Linked DNA regions of Homo sapiens: all the other regions are linked to region 1. Evidence: promoter capture Hi-C in human tissues and cell types (Jung and others, 2019). All regions are on one chromosome and are shown on one strand. The core of a region is centred on a gene start or on the middle of the fragment in contact, and the rest is flanking DNA. Distances in the headings are between cores, read along the strand shown.

Region 1 (2,925 bases), core at 426-2,925:
CTCGATCTCCTGACCTCGTGATCCACCCGCCTCGGCCTCCCAGTGTGCTGGGATTATAGGCATAAGCCACCGTGCCTGGCCTAGGGCTTTCATGCCCCATACCCACACCCTATACCAGGACACCCCCTTCTCAGAAAAGCTCCATATTCCACATTTCTGTGATCAGCTGGACACCTGTGGGGGCACCCAAACTCCTTAGGCTCACATGGTGGGTGCCCTGGCATGGTGGGTGCCCTTGTATGGTGAGTGCCCTGGCATGGTAGGTGCCCTGGCCTGGTGGGTATCTGGACTCCCCAGCTGTGGCCAGCAGCCACCTCCTCCCCCTAACTCAGCCTAAGACTGGGAGCCAAGCACCAGCTGGGGGCAGAGACTGTGGGAAATTATAGGACAGCAAAATGAAGAGAGGGCCGGGGGCGGTGGCTCATGCTTGTAATCCCAGCACTTTGGAAGGCTGAAGTGGGCGGATCACCTGAGGTCAGAAGTTCGAGACCAGCCTGGCCAACATGGAGAAACCCCGTCTTTACTAAAAATACAAAAAATTACTTGGGCGTGGTGGCGGGTGCCTGTAATCCCAGCTACGTGGGAGGCTGAGGCAGGAGAATTGCTTGAACCCAGGAGGCGAAGGTTGCAGTGAACAGAGGCCGAACCACTGGACCCCAGCCTGGGTGACAGAGTGAGACTCCGTCTCAAAAAAAAAAAAAAAAAAAAAAAAAAAGAATGAGGAGAGACTGGGAACCTCGGGCTGGACAGGGCTCCCCTCCTCCCTTCCTGTCTGGCTTCTGCCCTCAGAGTCTCACCACCAAATGATGACAGAGAAGATCCCAGGTCTTGCCCAAGGTCTGGTTCCACAGCAGGTCAGCTCCGTCTGCCAGGAAGTAACCTGTGGGCATGGGGGTAGGGGTTAGGCTGCTCCAGAGCCCGGGCAGCTTAGAGAGGATTTCCAGCCCCCCCGCCCCGCCCCTCTCCCAGTTCTTAGTTTTCCCTTGGTAAAGCCTTCAGGAACGTTTAACCCCCATGGGGGCGGGGAATGGACCTGGAAGGACAGCAGAACCTGCCCCCCGCCCCATCCCCACCACCGGCCCAGCCTTCCCTGCAGACTCACCCACAGACACAGCCACCAGCACCAGAGCCCAGCGCGGGTGGCCATGGATGGGGTCGGCGGCCATCTGAGGGTACAGTGACAGGCTGGGGGCATGGGGTGGGGACATGGGGGGGGGCATGGTCAGCCTCTCGAGGCCCCGGCCGCAGTCTCCCTGTGCGCACCCCCACCCCAGTCTCAGCTCTGGAGACGCCCGGCGGGTCTCCCGGCCTCAGCCTCCCACCCCTCGCCCTCGCCCCGTGCGCCTCGAGCCCCCAAGCCCGCACCCGAGCAGCGCCCCGGTCCCCGAGAGCAGGCTGTGCGCCAGGGAGACGCAGAGGTTCCACCACTGCCAGCGGTCCCGAGCGGCCGATTCCGGCGTGGGCAGCCGCCGCAACCCCCAGTGCAGCCCCCGGAACGCGAGGAAGGAGGCGCCGGCCACCAGGAGCCCCGTGGGCGCCATGGCCTGGCGGTTGGGGGGTTGCGGGGAGTCCGGGTCGGTCCCCTCGGCGCCCGCGCTCTCGGCCGGGACTGGGAACCCGTTTCCCGGCAGGGCTGGGGCCCCGGCTCCCCTCCCCGCCGCGCCTTTGGGATCAGCAGGAACTTTTCCCCGTTCGTCCACGCCCAGTCCCTCGCCTGGGCGGTGATTGGAGCAGCCGCGGGGCCGCCGCCCCCGGAGCCTTGGCCACCGATTGCGTCTTGCTCCAGCCGGGGGAGCGGTTCGGGGGCTCCGGGCAGTAGACCATGCCCTGGAGCTCGGGGGGCCTCCGGGATGTTCGCCAATAGGGGTCCTCCCCAGCTCCAAGCGTCCTGAAGCGCTGGAGTTGCAGACCTGGGTCTCCAGTCTAACCTCAACTGACACTCCCGGGCCCCACCCACGAACCTTGACCTCTTCCCGGCTCCCGCGACTTTCACCTGCTGAGCGTCATCACCACCCACCGCCACACCCTGCAAGGCAGAGGCTAGCGCAGCCCACTCGTACCTGCCCGAGCCTGGCCGCCGCCCCCACTTCCCTCCCCGCGTCCGTGGTGGGGACGGGGTGCCCCACTTTCTTGGAGCCACCCCTTCGGCCTCCTGAGGTTTCCACGCCTTTACCATATCCCGGCAAACCTGTAATTCCAGCAGTTCTGCTCCCCCTCCCCCACAACCCCCAGGAGACCCCATGTTGGAGAAGCGACCCACTGGGCCCCGCCCCGACCCCCAGCATTGTTTTCGGCCCTACGGAGGAGCCTCATTAGGAAGAGGACGCAAAAGGGAATCGCTGGCCCCCAGTCTTGAAAAGCACTTCCTTCCCCAAGGGCTTGGTACCCGTTGGGTGGGTAGAATATCTTCAATCCGAGGGCAAGGAAAGGTAACACAGGGTCCCTTCAAGGCTGGGACAGAGTCAGAAGAGAAAAACAGACCTGTCCTGCTCTTAGTAGCAGGGCGGTTAGGATTCCAGAACCCTCCAGCCTTAAGAGGAAGAGCCTCCCCCAGCCCCTCACCACCTGAAGAGCCCCAGGTTGCACTGCTTTCCTTCCACCTTACTCCACTCCACCTCTTCAGCTGGCAGACAGTCAGCAAGTCAGAGCTGTTTCCTGCAGGCTGAGAGGGAGGATTCCAGCTACTTCAAAGAATTAAGTTCATAAACCAAGAGGTGCCCCAACCAAACCTTCTCACCAAAAAGCTGAGGTCTTCCCTTCATTCTTCTACCCCCACCTCTCCAAAGGTTTAAATAATAACACTGATCTCTTAAATTATATTATATGAAATACAAAATGTGGAAAATTTGGAAATTACAGAAAAACCAAAGATGAAAATTACAGTGACTTTGTTCCACCATACAAAGATAACCACTCAACATTTTT
Region 2 (3,105 bases), core at 181-2,680, 510 kb after region 1:
TCCTGCTCCAGCCATGGAAGACGTGCCTCCTTCCTCTTTGCCTTCCACCATGATTGTGATTCTCCTGAGGCCTCCCTAGCCATGTTTCCTGTACAGCCTGTGGAACTATGAGCCAATTAAACTTCTTTTCTTTATAAATTACCCAGCCTCAGGTATGTCTTTATGGCAGTATGAGAAAGGATTAATACAACAGTAGATACCAAAGCACATTTAATGGATTTTACTTTAATGCCAGATGTAAAATATGCATTTGGAAATTATGCTTTCAAGAAAGTCACCTTAACAAAAAACAAGGAAAGACAGTAAGATTATGAGCAGTAACCTAGTTAACAGATGCCCCTGCCCTTGCCATTCAATCTTCATTGTCCAGGCTGACCTGCTGACAGATTATTCTTTTTTTTGAGACGGAGTCTTGCAATGTTGCCCAGGCTGGAGTGCAATGGGGTGATCTCGGCTCACTGCAAGCTCCACCTCCCGGGTTAACGCCAGTCTCCTGCCTCAGCCTCCCAAGTAGCTGGGATTACTACCATGCCTGGCTAATTTTTGTATTTTTTAGTAAAGACAGGGTTTCGCCATGTTGGCCAGGCTGGTCTTGAATTCCTGAGCTCAAGTGATCCACCTGCACTGGCCTCCCAAAGAGCTGGGATTACAGACGTCGGCCACGGCACCTGGCCTCAAATTATTCTTTGACTTGAACTTGATATAACGCATGTTTACTGAGAAGTTACAACAGGTCAGGGACTGTTTTAGATGTTCACAATGTATCAGTGGATAAAACAGACCAGAGACCCCTATAAGCAGGGAGCTTACATTCTTGCAGAATAGTAGAGGAAAATAAATAATAAACATATACACATTAATTATCTAGTATTTAGAAAATAAATCAATAGAATTGGAAGATAAAGAGTGCAGGTTTGGAGTAGAATGCAGCAGTGTTAAATAGGATGGTTGGGGCAGGTCTCACAGAAGTAACATTAAGCAAAGACTTATAGGAGGCGAGGTATTCACCAGACAGATGGCTGGATGCAGAACATTCCAAACAGAGAAAACAGCTAATGCGAAGGGCCAAAGGTGGGAGAGTCCCCAGCTTAGCAGAGAACTTGCAAGAAGGGTAGTGTGGCTGAAGCAGAGTAACCAAGCCATGGGGAGAACAGTCGTGAATGAGCTCAGAGAGAGGCAATGCGGGGGCGGGGGGGGGGGGGGGGGGCAGGAGAAGAGGTCCATATATGAAGGCCTTGTAAATAATGTGGCTTTTACACTGAGTGAAATGGGAAGTCAGTGAAGGATTTTGAACACAGCAGACTCTGTATGTAATGTGTCTGTGTGTGCATGTTTGGGAAGGAACGAGAGAGGTAAGGGGTACAAAAAGAGACCACTTAGGAGTTTCAAGACTTTCTTTCCAAGTTTAAAAAGAAGTTTTATCCACAAGGGGTATTCAGGCCATGTTTGCAAACACAGGTTTTCTCTTCCAATGAGGAATATTGAAGAATGTGTCAATGGCCTACAACTGTATCCCTAGCAGGCATCTGAAAAATAATACTTACGAAACATTTTCCTCTGCTCATTGCCCTGACATGAGTTCTGGGCATCACCCTCTCTCAGGGGAGAGGTGAAAAGAGGTTATGTGGAACAGACAGTGATAACAGGATGACGTCACAGGTGTGCCTCAAAGAAGTCCCTGGTGAGCTGGGCTCATAACTACTCTGCAGTGATTTATTCGACCCTGCCAGCTCCAGCTGGAGAAGAGATGCAGAAAGCTGACACAGCCTAAAGCCCTGGGCAGGCATTATAAGATCTTTCTCCCTGCAGTCCCCTGCCAGCTCCTCCCCTCTTTCAACCACTGATCCTTGCCTCAGAAGCCAAAGTGTGAACAGCACGTGTCCGGATTTCAGAAACCTGCCCAGCAGTTGGAAATTCCCTGCAGCGTGTCAACTGCTACATCTGCTGTTGGCACTTGGGGCAAAGGGATCACACGCGCATATTTTCTGAACATAAGCTTCAAGATATGAGTCTTATATTTGAAGAGGGGACTAAACAAGCCAGAACACTCCAATTACAGTAAATGCATTCCTAAATAGACGACAATCTGCCTTCTGAAAAGGAAACTGAGACATACAAGCAAACCGAATAGCACTAAGAACAGCAGTAGTCAAGAACAAAAGCACAGAGAACCCTGACTAATGGAAAGGATTTCATGGGCCAGCAAGGTTCACCAGATATATAATGTGATGTAGCTGAAACAACAGAGTACTCTTTTCCAAATCTCTAACTCACATCTTTTTGTCAATAAATGGCTCCTATCACTTCAGCTGCAGCCTTTCCTCTCCACTCCTTTGATCTTTCTTCCCCACCCAATTAGCCCTCTAAGTGATATTCTATACACTGGACACCTCTTGGAAAAATGAAAAAATGTGAGCCCAATGACACCATTTGCCATAAGACTGAGCTGTAAATGGGCAGGAGCTGGAAAAGAAACTAATCTTTGGAAGAGCAAACTACATGCCCTTGCCACCCTGGATGTAGGTGCCCAGTCACACTGCTCATGGGCATCACAGGCAGAGCAAAAAAAAAGAAAAGAAAAGAAAGAAAGTCTGAGTAAGTCTGATGGAACAAGGAAATCCCAGCTTCCTCTGGTAGTACGGCAGACTAGACACCTAGATCCATTCTCCCAATCAAACAGCTCATTATTCTGAAAAAAAGAGTATGTTAAACATCTTTTTGAAAAGCATTCGTGAGCTAGTAAAATAAAAGAAAATCCTTTGGTCAGAGATTGAATAAAGATGGGAAACCAGATAGGTAAGTGTGGCATTACAAACAGCCTTTACCCTAAGAACATTTGCTACCTGATGAACTCGAGCTTTGCTTTCCAAGGCTGCATGGACACAGCCAAGATCCTTATCATAAAGCTAGGGTCCCACAAGGCTACACCCCAAATACACCATTTCAGATTATGGAGTCTCTAAAATGCCATGTTGAATATATTTTAGAGAAATAAAAGACAAGCTCACAAGTATATTTGGGAAATAAGAAACCATAAAGAAAGTCAAAGCAGATTTGATTTAAAAAATATATGGAAATAAAAAATTTATTAAAATTAAAAACATT
Region 3 (3,219 bases), core at 370-2,869, 770 kb after region 1:
ACCAGAGAGCTAAGATGAAAACACCTGTGAACCGTGGCTACATAATAAAATGTAAGTGTTTACAAACCACGACAACATACACATAATCAAAATTCGGGACAGGAAACAGGAAATGGAGAGGGAGTGCCTCAGCTTTTATACACAGGGTCAAAAGACTTCATTTAAGGCTGATAAACTAAGTAGCAGAGATAGAAGCACACATTTAGGAAGATAAACTGGCTGGGCCCAATGGCTCACACCTGTAATCTCAGCACTTTGGGAGGCCGAGGTGGGCGGACTGCTTGAGCTCAGGAGCTTGAGACCAGCCTGGGCAACATGGCGAAAGCCCGTCTCTACAAATAGTACAAAAATTAGCTGGATGTGGAGTATGGTGGTTGTGTGAGCCTGCGGTCCCCGCTACGCAGGAGGCAGGAGGATCACTTGAGCCCAGGAGATCAAGGCTGCAGTGAGCCAAGATCCCATCACTGCACTCCAGCCTGGGTGACAGAGTGGGACCCTGTCTCAAAAATAATAATAATAATAATATTAACACTAGAAGAATGAAGATAAATAATATAATCAAATAAAATCAGGGGCAGTAAAGGAAAGGTAGGTGAAAATCAGATCATATAGTGTTAAAAAAAAAAAGCAGCAAGAACAAAGCATGATATAAAATGAATGTGAAATGAATGTAAATAGTAAACTCATAATACTCTCAGATTAGATTACAAAAGACAAAACCAACTAATTACAATAAACTGTTTTAAACAAAAACTACGGCTAAAACAAAATGATCCAAAGGTTGAAAATAAAAGCTTAACCAAAAGTATCCCAGACAACTACAAATAAAAATGAAAATAGGAGTTATTTCACAACAGACAACCTTAATTTTTGGATCAAAAGGATTAAATGAGCAACTATGTAGAATGGGTTAAAAATATAAAATGCTGATGGAGGTCAAGAGAATAATAACTTTAAAAAGTGACTGACTCCATTTCTGTGGGTGTTGGTTTTAAAGAACAGCTTCTATAGGACAGTGGAAGCAGAAGTTTATTGCATAAATATATGCTAGCAATTAAAAGTCTCATTAAAATACATTAAGTCTATTTAAAGGGGTATTAAGTTTATTCTTAGACATCAGAATTGGATATGTATTAATTTTGTCATTTATGGGGGCTAATAAAAGAGGGTTAATCCAGGGGCAACAACCACGAACACATTTCTGCTTTACTCAATAGCACGCAATGGCCTCAATCAATTTTCACATAAAAAAAAGATTTGCACTATCTTTGTATTTCTTACTCGACTAAAAGCAGTATAAACTCAGGATCAACAAGATAAATGATGAGCAATAAAAAGGTATAAAATCTATAAGCACTTCAGTTTTACTTCTAACGAGAATATTTTATTCCTGTGAAATCAGTCAAGTGTGTGAGAAAAATGGGCCAATTCCATTTCCTTCAATGACATAGGAATGAAAGTCAAGTTTTACATATGACGAAGAAGTTCACATCTAAGTACCATGCTAAGGCATTCAAACACATTCGTGTCTTTAACTCGAGAATGGTAGCCTGACCTATTAACTAAATTTCACTGCTAAACACACAAAAGGAAAAATATCCCATGTCTATGTTCAAAGGCTTAATATCTCAAACGTAAAATTTCATGGTAAAAGGAATTTGAGGAGAAAAAAGTTTTCAGAAAAATCTCTATTAAAGAAACTTAGTAACTTACTTATAAAATAAGCTTGATAAAGAGTATTATCTAAGGGCAGTAAATAGTAACAAAAGTATTGCTATTTTGCACTGGCATTTCAAAGTAATTGTGAAAATCAGGGGTTTCAAAATATTTATAAGGAATAGCTATTGGTACTACTCAAAATGCCAGTCCCTGACAAGATAAAGAGCTTGTGCCAGAATGTAAACAACACATTAAAAAGTCAATTAAACCAAAGAAATGTGAGGTAACCTAAACATACGGCACAAGGTCCTTATCTCTGTGGACAGTAACAAATAGTCTGTGGTTAAGCAGCCAGTTCAATAACCACTTTTAGTAGCACTATGCCAGATGCCACAAATGACCATTTCAAAGGTTATGACCACTACTCTGTTCTTTTTTTTTTTTTGAGACGAAGTTTCGTTCTTGTCGCCCAGCCTGGAGTTCAATGGCGCAATATCAGCTCACTGCAACCTCCACCTCCCGGCTTCAGGCGACTCTTCTGCCTCAACCTCCTGAGTAGATAGGACTACAGACATGTACCACCATGCCCGGCTAATTTTGTATTTTTAGTAGAGACGGGGTTTCGCCATGTTGGCCAGGCTGGTCTTGAACTCCTGACCTCAGGCATACTGCCTGCCTCGGCCTCCCAAAGTGCTGGGATTACAGGTGTGAGCCACCGCGCCTGGTGACCACCACTCTAAGTAGTTAATGTTGTGTGGATTTGCCAGCCCGGTTTTGCCAGCTCTCTAATACTTTCAAACAAAACCAGTGATCCATGTTTTCATATGAAATGGATCTGATTCTTAAGATTAATATGGGCAATAAATAATAACTGCAAGCCTTATACAATTCACAGGCTAATGGGCCGCACCCTCTATTACAGGAGTCCCCAACCCCTGGGCCATGGACTGATATTGGTCCCTGGCCTGTTAGGACTTGTGCCGCACAGCAGGAGGTGAGAGGCAAGCAAAGCTTCATCTGAATTTACAGCCACTTTCCATTGCTCACATTACTGCCTCAGCTCCGCCTCCTGTCAGATCAGCGCAGCATTAGATTCTCACAGGAGCGTGAACCCTCCTGGGAACGCCGCATGCGAGGGATCTAGGTTGAGCACTCCTTGAGGATCTAAAGCCTGATGATCTGTCACTGTCTCCCATCACCCCCATATGGGACCGTCTAGCTGAGGGGAAACAAGCTGCGGGAAAACAAGCTGATTCTACACTATGGTGAGTTGTATAATTATTTCATTACATGAAATAATACAACGTAATAAATGTACAATAAATGTAATGCGCTTGAATCATCCCGAAATCACCCCTCCCCCACCACAGGTCCATGAAAAAATTGTCATCCGTGAAACTGGTCCCTGGTGCCAAAAAGGTTGGAGACCACTGCTCTACTCAATTGTAAACAGTAGAATTGTAAAGAAAGTTGGGGTACTTGGCTACTCTACTTTTAAAAGTGAAATATAAAAATGTTTATTTTGAGCACTACTTTGTTCAACTGAGGTATACAGAATAG
Region 4 (3,007 bases), core at 175-2,674, 520 kb before region 1:
CTCTGTCCCCCAGGCTGGAGTGTGGAGTGCAGTGGCACAATCTCGGCTCACTGCATCCTCCGCCTCCCAGGTTGAAGCGATTCACCTGCCTCAGCCTCCTGAATAACTGGGACTACAGGCACCCGCCACCACGCCCAGCTAATTTTTTTTTTGTATTTTTAATAGAGACGGGGTTTCACCGTGTTAGCCAGGATGGTTTTGATCTCCTGACCTCGTGATCTGCCCACCTTGGCCTCTCAAAGTGCTGGGATAACAGGCGTGAGCCCCGCGCCTGGCCACTGCAGCTCTTAAAGCTTACTCTCCAGGGGAAGTGGCAGAGGAAGGAAGACACAAAGATGAATTTCCATCCTCTTTCTCCTCTACTGAAATCTGACAAGCTCCTGGGTCTTTTGATTTCTCCTTGAACATGAGGTTTGTACCTGGAGGATCTCTGGTGGCAAGGGTGTTTCCTTTGTTTTTTTTTATTTATTTATATTTTGATTGATTGATTGAGACAGAGTCTCTCTCTGTCGCCCAGGCTGGAGTGCAATGGCACGATCTTGGCTCACTGCAACCTCCGCCTCCCGGGTTCAAGTAATTCTCTTGCCTCAGCCTCCCAAGTAGCTAAGATTACAGGTACACGCCACCACGCCCAGCTATTTTTTTGTTTTGTTTTGTATTTTTAGTAGAGAGGGGTTTCACCATGTTGGCCATGCTGGTCTCAACTCCTGACCTCAGGTGATCTGCCTGCCTCGTCTTCCCAAAGTGCTGGGATTACAGGTGTGAGACACTTCGCCCAGCCTTCTTTATTTTTTAGAGACAAGTCTCACTCTATCGCCCAGACTGGAGTGTAGTGGTGCAATCATAGCTCACTACAGTCTCGACCTCCCAGGCTCAAGCCATCCCCCTGCCTCAACTTCTTGCATAGCTAGGACTACAGGCATGCACCACCACACCCAGCTAATTTTTTTTTTTTTAAGATGGAGTCTCGCTCTGTTGCCCAGGCTGGAGTGCAGTGGTGCGGTCTCAGCTCACTGCAACCTCCACCTCCCGGGTTCAAGCAATCCTCCTGCCTCAGCCCCCCTAGTAGCTGGGATTACAGGCATGTGCCACCATGCCCTAAAAATTTTGTATTTTTAGTAGAGACAGGGTTTCGCCATGTTGGCCAGACTGGTCTCGAACTCCTGACTCAGGTGATTCACCCACCTCGGCCTCCTAAAGTGCTGGAATTACAGGTGTGAGCCACCGCGCCCGACCCTAATTTTTTTTTTAATTTTGTACAGACAGAACCTCACTATGTTGCCCAGGCTGCTCTTGAAGTCCTGGCCTCAGGCCAGGCGCGGTGGCTCACGCCTGTAATCCCAGCACTTTGGGAGGCCGAGGCGGGCGGATCACGAGGTCAGGAGATCGAGACCATCCTGGCTAACACGGTGAAACCCCGTCTCTACTAAAAATACAAAAAATTAGCCGGGCGCAGTGGCGGGCGCCTGTAGTCCCAGCTACTCGGGAGGCTGAGGCAGGAGAATGGCGTGAACCCGGAAGGCGGAGCTTGCAGTGAGCGGAGATCGCGCCACAGCACTCCAGCCTGGGCGACAGAATGAGACTGTCTCAAAAAAAAAAAAAAGTCCTGGCCTCAAAGGATCCTCCCACCTTGGCCTCTCCAAGTGCTGGGATTACAGGCGTGAGCCATCAGGCCCGGCCCTTAAGGGTGTTTTCTACTGCTACAGTGATTAACTAGTCTCTGGTGTATCTCTCTCCCAAAGGCAGCCCCCAGCCCTGCCTGACCCAGGCTCAGCAAGTAGCGTAAGGAGCATTTTAAAGAAAATTATTGGCTGGGCAGTGGCTCACGCCTGTCATCCCAGCACTGTGGGAGGCCGAGGCGGGTGGATCACGAGGTCAGGAGATCGAGACCATCCTGGCTAACACGGTGAAACCCCGTCTCTACTAAAAATACAACAAATTAGCCGGGCGTGGTGGTGGGCGCCTGTAGTCCCAGCTACACAGGAGGCTGAGGCAGGAGAATGGTGTGAACCCGGGAGGCAAAGGTTGCAGTGAGCCGAGATCGTGTCACTGCACTCCAGCCTGCGCAACAGAGCGAGACTCTGTCTCAAAAAAAAAAAATTATTGGCCGGCGCGGTGGCTCACGCCTGTAATCCCAGAACTTTGGGAAGGCAAGTTGGGATTGTGGGGAGAGATCACTTGAGGTCAGGGATCACTTGAGGTCAGGAGTGCGAGACGAGCCTGGGCAACATGGCAAAACCCCATCTCTACTAAAAATACAAAAATTAGCCAGGCATGGTAGCAGGTGCCTGTAATCCCAGGTACTCAGGTGGCTGAGGCACGAGGATCGCTTGAACCAAGAAGGAGAAGGTTGCAGTGAGCCGAGATCACGACACTGCACTCCAGCCTGAGCAACAGAGCGAGATTCTGTCTCAAAAAAAAAAAAAAAAATAGGCAAGGTGCGGTGGCTCACGCCTATAATCCCGGCACTTTGGGAGGCCGAGGCAGGCGGATCACCTGAGGTCAGGAGTTCAAGACCAGCCTGGCCAACATGGCGAAACCCTCTTTCTACTACAAATACAAAAATTAGCTGGGCATGGTGGCACGTGCCTGTAATCCCAGCTACTCGGGAGGCTGAGGCAGGAGAATCACTTGAACCCAGGAGGTGGAGGTCACAGTGAGCTGACATCACACCACTGCACTCCAGCCTGGGTGACAAGAGTGAAAACTCTGGCCCAAAAAACAAATTAATTAATTAAATTTAATTTAGAAAAGATTTCTTAGCTAACTTCTCAGAGGAACATAGGACAAAACTGGGTATTAACTCTACATCCTGCCTCACCCACCCCCTCCCTAAATGTTGATGACTCTGTTGCCCTGGGCTTACCAAAGAGCAGCCACACACACAGAACTTTCTGAAAAATCCTGTCAGTGCTCTGAACAAGGCTCGAGTCCCTGGGAGAAGACGGCACCACAGGAAGCTACAGGAGATCCAACCTTCCTTTTTTTTTTTTTTTTGAGACGGAGT

Evidence for each region. The method cuts DNA at HindIII sites, captures the fragments that hold promoters and counts their contacts. A contact is called where the count stands out against the background at its distance.
Region 2: a fragment that was not itself captured here is called in contact with the fragment with the promoter of TLCD2 in region 1 in 1 of the 25 tissues and cell types used here (dorsolateral prefrontal cortex).
Region 3: a contact is called between a fragment that was not itself captured here and the fragment with the promoter of TLCD2 in region 1, in 1 of the 25 tissues and cell types used here (H1 embryonic stem cells).
Region 4: a contact is called between a fragment that was not itself captured here and the fragment with the promoter of TLCD2 in region 1, in 1 of the 25 tissues and cell types used here (dorsolateral prefrontal cortex).

The regions. Positions count from the first base shown.
Region 1 is chr17:1,708,702-1,711,626 of GRCh38, forward strand. It overlaps TLCD2 (TLC domain containing 2), which reads right to left and starts at 1,676. Exons shown (of 4, transcript NM_001164407.2): 1 at 1,366-1,676; 2 at 1,103-1,185; 3 at 798-880. The coding sequence starts at 1,541. MIR22HG (MIR22 host gene) reads right to left here. Exons shown (of 3, transcript NR_028505.2): 3 at 2,803-2,925. The HindIII fragment of the contact is 13,317 bases long and covers 1-2,925 here.
Region 2 is chr17:2,221,361-2,224,465 of GRCh38, forward strand. All of the region lies in intron 10 of SMG6 (SMG6 nonsense mediated mRNA decay factor), which reads right to left. Among named protein-coding and RNA genes, the nearest start is that of SMG6, 81 kb to the right of the region's middle. The HindIII fragment of the contact is 7,215 bases long and covers 1-3,105 here.
Region 3 is chr17:2,482,408-2,485,626 of GRCh38, forward strand. All of the region lies in intron 2 of METTL16 (methyltransferase 16, RNA N6-adenosine), which reads right to left. Among named protein-coding and RNA genes, the nearest start is that of METTL16, 28 kb to the right of the region's middle. The HindIII fragment of the contact is 4,445 bases long and covers 1-3,219 here.
Region 4 is chr17:1,193,716-1,196,722 of GRCh38, forward strand. It overlaps a transcript of ABR not described here. Among named protein-coding and RNA genes, the nearest start is that of ABR-AS1, 14 kb to the left of the region's middle. The HindIII fragment of the contact is 6,525 bases long and covers 1-3,007 here.